2 separate regions of the Homo sapiens genome follow, and region 1 is linked to region 2. The links are contacts of gene promoters, found by promoter capture Hi-C in human tissues and cell types (Jung and others, 2019). All regions are on one chromosome and are shown on one strand. Each heading gives the region's core, a stretch centred on a gene start or on the middle of the fragment in contact. The rest is flanking DNA. Distances are from core to core; before and after follow the strand shown. Region 1 overlaps KMT5B (lysine methyltransferase 5B). Region 2 holds the start of UNC93B1 (unc-93B1 regulator of TLR signaling).

Evidence for each region. Contacts are between HindIII fragments. The study calls those that stand out against the background at their distance.
Region 1: a fragment that was not itself captured here is called in contact with the fragment with the promoter of UNC93B1 in region 2 in 2 of the 25 tissues and cell types used here (lymphoblastoid cells and spleen).

The regions. Positions count from the first base shown.
Region 1 is chr11:68,153,591-68,157,604 of GRCh38, forward strand. It overlaps KMT5B (lysine methyltransferase 5B), which reads right to left. Exons shown (of 11, transcript NM_017635.5): 11 at 1,273-4,014. Among named protein-coding and RNA genes, the nearest start is that of CHKA-DT, 34 kb to the left of the region's middle. The HindIII fragment of the contact is 4,306 bases long and covers 476-4,014 here.
Region 2 is chr11:68,001,395-68,005,490 of GRCh38, forward strand. UNC93B1 (unc-93B1 regulator of TLR signaling) reads right to left here and starts at 2,703. Exons shown (of 11, transcript NM_030930.4): 1 at 2,554-2,703; 2 at 2,263-2,404; 3 at 1,628-1,781. The coding sequence starts at 2,649. RefSeq lists enhancers at 1,256-1,455, 1,556-1,605, 1,706-1,755, 2,660-3,203, 3,204-3,746 and silencers at 2,056-2,465, 2,526-2,825. The HindIII fragment of the contact is 30,745 bases long and covers 1-4,096 here.

The sequences.
Region 1 (4,014 bases), core at 1,379-3,878, 150 kb after region 2:
TTCAAGACCAGCCTGGCCAACATGGTTAAACTCCATCTCTACCAAAAATACAAAAATTAACCCAGCATGGTGGCGGGCGCCTGTAGTCCCAGCTACTTGGGAGGCTGATGCAGGAGAACCGCTTGAACCTGGGAGGTGGAGGTTGCAGTGAGTCAAGATTGTGCCACTGCACTTCAGCCTGGGCAACAGAGTGAGACTCCGTCTCTAAATCAATAAATTTCCTTTTCCCCTGGGCTCTATCATTAGCAAACACAAGTAATGCCCATGTGCTCTAGGACATCAGGGAGGGAGTAAACCTCACCTTCCTTTGCATGCGAGGGTCACACGTGCCATAGTCACAGGGAGTGCCCTGGAGCTGGCAACTTGCTTGTACTCTGCTCTGGGTGCGACTGGGTTCTGCAGCAGAGTACGCAACGGTGCAGCAGGTCAGTGACAGAAAGTTGACATTTGAGAAACGAGTCACACAAGGGCTCCCGGCAAGTTAGCTACCATTGGCTATTGGAAGAGTAGAGAGAAAACCTGAGATGCTGAACAAGACTCCTAAGTACTTAACAGACATGCCACGCTTAGCCTTTTTCTATACTGGGAACCCAAGTTTGGGTGGATACTTCAATCAATTAGGAAAAATCAATAATCAATACTTGACTAGTCCCGTGTGTGCAGCACTCACCCAGATTATCCTCATGAGTGAATGCAGCTCAACCAGAAACTTAACTGATGACGGGACCAGGCGTCCACACTGATCTCCGGCACAGAATGATGCTGGGTGCCAGGAAAGAGATGTGGAGATTAAGCAGCTTGCTCAGGGATACTCAGATGTTGCAGGTTTCCTCTCTCCTGTACAGTCATATTTCAACAGTAAATGGGTGAAAAAAGGACCCAGGCCAGTCATGAGTATGCTAACTTTGACCAATACGGAGAGGGGGGAAAAAAACAACTCCAAGTAATCAGGAACTATTAATGCATTTGGGTTGCAAAAGCCTTCGATGTTATTGTGCTCCATGTTGAGGGCAAACATTTCTTGGGTTCAAGGACTAGGAAGGTATGTAGTTTAGTCTCCCTACTAAAAGAAGAATGTATGTTTACCCTCTCTTCTCTTAAAAATGAGTGGCACCAGACACAAGAGACCAGGGCCCAGAGAACTCAACACTCACAGGTATTGAAAAGCTTTAGAAATTGATTTTACAAATTGTTTTACATGAAAATTTTGTGGAGAAAGTCACCACTTTGATCTTTTTTTTTTCTTTTCAGATACAGTGAACACCGGCCAAATTGTTTTAATTTCCGAATTTATTAAAATGATTAACCTCAATACTGCAAGTGCATGTACAAAATATTTGTAAAAAATGTTTTTAATGAAACGTTAAAGAACTTACCTCAAATGCTGAAAAAGTCCTTTTTCATTCTTTCAGTACAAGGAATACATTGTATCTCAAAAGTATTACAACTCAGCAAAAACAATTTATAACAGTAATTTGAAAATGATTGAAAATTGAATACTTTACATATATTTCTATGATCATCTCCTAATTCTTACAATGCCAAAATCTTAACCAATCATTGCATAAGCTCAAGCTAAGAGTTTTATTGAATGCAACCTCTTCTAAACTGGTCAACGGTGTGTGGCTGTCACCATTCCACACGGTGAAGTTCTACAGCAGATCCGGAACAGTTCCGAGGCCCCTACCTTTACCAACGGAAATTAGGTTTCCCTAGAAGGCATCAACAGTGGCTGCTGAGTGCTTGTGCATACCGACTCCTGAGAGGCAGTGATTTACTACCAAATGTCACTGCTTTGAGACCCATGGGAAGGTTGGCCTCCAAAGAGGAGGCCATGATAAAATTAAAACATCAAAAATAAGTTACTAAAATTCAGCTGAAAAATGAAAATGGGAAATGTGTTTTGTCACTTTTTAAGATCGAAATTCCCAAAATAGCTATCGTTGGTATTCAAATAAGGTTTAAGATTTAGTCTCTGAACCTCTTCAAAACACCCCAAACTAAGGTGGGAATACAAGAGGTGACCCGCTGCCCTCCAGCACCTCCAGACACAGGGTCTACCTTCATCTTCCTCAGTGGCAGGGGTTCACATTTCTATGCAGGGACCCCATGAGGGCTGGACGTGCTCTGCAAAGTGCTCCGGGTGCCTCGGACAGGTGCTCCTGAGAGGCTGTGTGGGCTGCCCTACTTCACTGTTGAAGACCTCCAGACGCAGTGAACGGGGGTATGGGTGGGTGTGGAAGAAGGTCTACCACATGCTTTCCAAACGCCTGAGGAGTTCGACTGCACCACAACAAACAAGGATGAGACTATGTAAGACTGCAGAAGTAGTTCCTTAGAGAACCAGGAGAAAACAATCTACTTTCTAAAAATGTTCATGAGTCTTAATTTCTATTTGGAACCTATGGGCAATCAACAGTCTTAAGGAGCGTCATTGAAACAATATCCCCCCAAACCTGGAAACTAGTAGGAATCAATTAGTAGTAACAGTAAGCATTGAGATTTTCTCCACTGGACTTTTCATGACCTTCAGATTCCTTTTCATATTTCAAGACATGGGCTACTTTCCTATAGACACTATACAAATCCCCTGAATTGATTTTTACTTAGGAACACTGTATATCAGAAAGTACAGGTACACATTTCCCAGAAATAAAGAGACCTACTGGTGTCAAACACCTGTTACAGATTTATATTCCCAAATTCTCTGTCCAATGATTTGCAAAATAATCCAGAGAAATGAAAAGAACCTGGTATTGAACATAAAGTAGTAATAAAAATTTGCTCATTAAGTTAATTAAAATTAATTTCTCAAAGTGCTTCAAAAAACAAATTAAATCTGACTCCTTTTTGTTTAACTGATAATATAGTCAAAAAAATCTTTGATGTTTTCATAATAAACTAACATAAACTAACATAAGCCAAGAACTCCCACTGATGCAGTGCTTAAAACTATATATTTATAATTTCCTATTTTATTGGCATGAATATTTCTAAACTTAAAAACCTTCCTGGTAAGTTCTTTTAATTTCTTATGACAAAAATTTCTCACAACACACAAATATTTACAACATATACATTGTTTTCAGTTCTTTACATTGAATCTCAAAGACAAACTTTTTTTATAGGTTACCACAGAACAAAAGCTGTGACTCATGTTTTTATTTCATAAACTATTATAAGTTAAAGTGAATAGATTTTTTTAATATTCCTTGTAGCATTTTACAAGTGCAACAGAAAACTTGAAGAACCAAATTAAGATAGCTGTAGTTCATTAGATAAATGTTGCTTGTTGTCATCACGTTGTTCACAGCAAATTTTTGAAAAAATAAGCACCAATCATTCTTGCAAAGAACAATTTTATCTAAAAGGATTGAAAAGAGTTAAATACAAGGTTTTTAATTTACATGACAAGCAATAAATACGCTGTATCGAACCTCATCCCACACACTGCTACCCTCGTACATATAATGAACTGAAAAGTGAGCTGTCACGTATGTCATTTTTTTTTTTTTTTTAAGAAACCAATCTGACTCCCAACCAATGGTTTGCGATATTAACAAAGGCCACAAACAGTACACCTGGGCCAGCAAACAGTGTGAAACTGACAAAACTCCAAGGGGGAAACATCTAGCAAATAAATCAAAAAGCCAAAGATCATTGCTGGTGATATTAGCATACTAGAAACCCTTAATATGCTGCTACTATGATTTGTTTTAAATTATTGTTTAGTCATATATTAAAGAGCCAGCTGATGCTCTTACAGTTAAAAAAACTGTGTAGCCACATTACTGTTTTCAACGTCCTGTGTGGAAAGTTGCTATCACTGTACAATTTTGCTTGAGCCTTTATTTTACAACAGGGCTTTACCTCTAACTCAGAATTGCACGTAAGAAGGCTATTTAAAAAGTACGATAAAAATTTGCACAAATCAGACTTAAGAATTGAGTCAGTATGCTGTACACTTTCTACAATAGTATGCTGATAAGTGAAGGGACAATAGAAGTGCTGCCA
Region 2 (4,096 bases), core at 1,453-3,952:
GTGGCTCACACCTGTAATCCCAACACTTTGTGGGGCTGGGGCGGGTGAATTTGAGACTGGCCTGAGCAACATAGCAACTCCCCATCGCTACAAATACTTTAAAAATCAGCCAGATGTGATGGCGTGCGCCTGTAGGCCCAGCTACTCGGGAGGCTGAGGTGGGAGGATTGCTTGAGCCCAGTGTGTGGGGGTTGAGGAGGCAGTGAGCTGTGTTCGTGCCACTGCACTCTAACCTGGGTGACAGAGTGAGACTCTGTCTCAAATAATAATAATAATAAAATAAATAAACACATAATTTAAAAAAAAAAAACAAGGAAACAGATGTAAGCACAGAAGGAACTGCAGTGTCCAATTCCAAGCCACTGTTCAGTGCCACCGTATCTGCAGAAGATGCTACCATTGCAAAGTCGTAACTGTGAAGGCTGTAGAGTAGGCTAAGATATGCTCAGTGAAAAGAAGGAAGCAAGCTCTGGGCACTGTGGCTCATGCCTGTAATCCCAGCACTTTGGGAGGCCAAGGCAGGAGAATCACTTGAGGTCAGGAGTTTAAGACCAGCCTGGTCAACATAGTGAAACCCCATCTCTACTAAAAGTACAAAAATTAACCGGGTGGCAGGCGCCTGTAATCCCAGCTACTCAGGGTGCTGAAGTAGGAGAATCGCTTGAGCCTGGGAGGCAGAGGTTGCAGTGAGCCGAGATCACACCACTGCACTGCAGTCTAGGTGACAGAGCAAGTATCTGTCTCAAAAAAAAAAAAGTAAGCAAGCAAAAGCAAACATAGCCCGCTTGCATACACACACACACACACACACACACACACACACACACGGGCACGTCCACACACGTGCTCTGGGGACAAGGATGTGAATGTAATCCATGCATGCTGGTGGGACAGCATGGGTAGCCGATTTCCTGGAGGGCTTAGATGGGGTTTCTTTTTTATGATTTCAGTTATTCTAATCCTGCCTGTGCAACGGGAGATGTTTTAAATTTTCAAATTTTTGTTTAAATGGAGTTTTCTCTTGTTGTTTTGTTTGTTTGTTTGTTTTAAAGATGAGGGAGCTCAAATTCACCTAATTTGTCCACTGGTCTCCAGGTCCCATCAGGGAGGGCACTGTGGACCGGTGATGGGGAGGCTGAACCACATACCTCCAGGGCTCAGATCTGGGGGAGAGCTCTGGGGCACCTGCCCAGCCATGCCTGTCTGTGAGAAACACCCCCTCAGCACCAGTCACAGCGACTGGGCCAGGCATGGGTGCCTGGACTTTGCTGACCGATCAGAAACCCCTAACTCTACAGCCCCAACCCTGAAGGCCACAGTGGCTCTGGGAGGCCTCCAAGGAGGCCACGAGGAGGGTGCCACGTGAGGCCCAGGCAAGCTGGGAGGGAGCTCAGCCCGTGTGAATCTGTTGCTGGAAACCAAATGTGCCCTGAGGCAAAGTTCCTGTTTCCTTCCCCAAATCCGAGTTTCACCCCCTTCACTCTCAGGCTTCCGGGTAGAAAAAAACCTCTCCCTTGTTCCCTCGCCCCACAAACACCCCGGCAGATGGACACCTCCTGGCCCGCCGGCCTCTGTACCCCTCCGAAATGGGAGTACCGCAGCATCCCACAGGAGCAGCCGCGCCCACCTGATGAGCACAGGTGTGTAGAGCAGGGCGGCGATGGGAGTCACGTTGATGCCCATCAGCATTTTGCTGTCGATGTCGGGCAGCCCCATGTTGCCATACTTCACCTCGCGGTAGGTCTCGTCGTAGTGCAGGATCAGCTGCATCTGCAGGAGGCCTGGGGACAGGACAGAGAGCGGCGTGCAGGGAGCAGCCTAGCTTTGGGCGCCACCGAGCAGAAGACGGCATGCAGGCCTCGCAGGGAGCTCCAATCACCGAAGGCATTCCCGCTGACAGCGCCCCTCAGGACAGCGGGGTTCCCGGGCTGCGCCACGCCTTCTGCCAGCCCGCGGCCACTTGGCCAGCTAAGCCCAGACCCCCACCCGCCTTGCTCCGCCGGCCTCCAATTCTGACGGTGGCAGGTCTGTCCGGGAGCCCGGACCCCCGTCCCCCACCCACACCGAGGCTCTGGCTGGGACCCGGGGACGCTGCGCTACTTGACCCCCCAACCCCACCCCCGCCGCGGGGGGCCGTGGCTGCAGCTGCGAGGGCAGCGGAGGGGAAGTGAGAGCGGGCGGGAGGCGGCGGCCCGCGGTTTCTGTTTCCCGGGCCGGGCTGGGAGCGGGCGGGGCGGCCCCGGGTCCCCGAGCGGCACCTACCCAGGTAGACGCCGTAGGTGAGCATGCCCCCGGCGCTGGCAGCCAGCACGTTCTTGAGCACGCCCAGGCGCTTGCGGCGGTAGTAGCGGCGCTCCTCCTCCTCCTCGTTGTAGTTGGGGTACGCGCCCACCAGCTCGTCCAGCTGCGAGCCACGCACGCCGCTCGCACCCGCGATCGCGCCCCGAACCCGTGTCCCCCGGTGCCCGCCGCCCCCCGGCCCGCCCCGCCCCCGCCGGGGGGACCCTGGCCCACAGGGGACGCCCGCGCCTCGCACTCCGGGTCCCCGCTCACCGGGGCCTCGGGCCCGTCCGGGACCCCGAGCAGGTCCTCGTCGCCCTGCGGCCCCGCAGCCCCCGCCATCGGGTAGAGCGGCGGCTCCGCCTCCATGGCCCGAACTACTGCGGACTCGCGGCGGTCGCCCCGGAGTCCCTGCGACCGCCCGGCCACTTCCTCCCGGCGGCCGGGACCTGCCCCCGCCCCGCCCTGTCCCGCCCTGCGGGCCGCCTCCTCCAGGACACGTGTGTGTGTATGTGTGTGTGCGCGCGCGCGCGCGCGTGTGTGCAGGGGCCTGCCTGTGTGTGCCCTCTGGGGTGTGAGTTCGAATCCCCACTCAGCCACCTCCTGGCCCTGTGACTTTAGGAATTAACTCCATTTCTTTGTGCCTCGGTTTCCTCCGTTTCCTCGACGGTAAAACAGAAATACATGGCACTACCCCCGGGGCCATGGCGGAACTATTGAGTTAATGCAAAGCCTTGGAAAAGTGCCAGGGTTGCCTGGCTCCCTTAAGCTCCCCTCAGGGTTGCCTGGGTCGTCCCCAGCCCCACCTCCAAGCCTGCTGTTACAGCTCATCAAAGAGCACTGCAGGGACAGTAGCGTCACCACCTGGACCCCACCTCCCACCACCGGACGCTACAGCCAGAGCCCACCTCCCATGTCCCCATCCTGCTCCAGTTTGGGCTGTGCAAATGGGAGCTTGAGTGGGTCCTGGGAGGTGGAGATTGTGATCCCCACTGAACTACATGGGGGACCCTGCCACAACCATGTAGTGGGGCCCAGAGCCACCTGCCCCCATCCTGCTGGGCACTGGATCCCGGGCTGCAGCGGGAGCCTGTGGTGGGGCCGACACTCCAAAGCACTGGCTACCACCGACCTGGCTGGAGCCACGGGGCCACTTTTGAAAATATCCAGATTCTCTCCCCTGGGTTCCTTCTGGTTTGAATGCTCTTCCTGCTGCGCCTCCCAGGTGGCTTCCTTCCCACTCAGCTCTCAGAACAAGAGACCATCCCTGCAGAGAATGCAGTCCCTTCACTTCCCTTCTGGTTTTCCATGCCCTCCCTGTGCACCCCCCTCCACCCACTGCTCTTTAGGTACATCCTCTCCCAAATGCAGAGGATGGCATTGGGCACCTACTGAGTGATCAATACTTGTGACTGGATGGGTGCATGAGTGACTGGATGACAAACACCTCCCACCCCGCAAGGATTGCTGGGAAGGTGGGGGGAGGCGTGAATCTGCAGTGGCTTCAGGCTTCCAGGAGGTAGAACTTTCTCCAGGTGACGATGCCCAAGTGCAGATGTGGGGAACAGACAGGTGGATTCATGCAGGTGGGTGGCTGGAAGTGGGAGACAGGAAAGGAGCCGAAGAGAGGGCAGGGCCCGAGGCGCAGGGGCAGGGAGGAGGTGGGAGAGTATGGCTATGGCGGGGGCCGTTCTCAGATGGCAGACACCAGCATCATTACACAGTATGATGAGAAAGTGCAATTCTCCTGACTCAGCCTTGTGAGTAGCTGGAATTACAGGCGTGTGCCCCTACACCCAGCTGATTTTTGTATTTT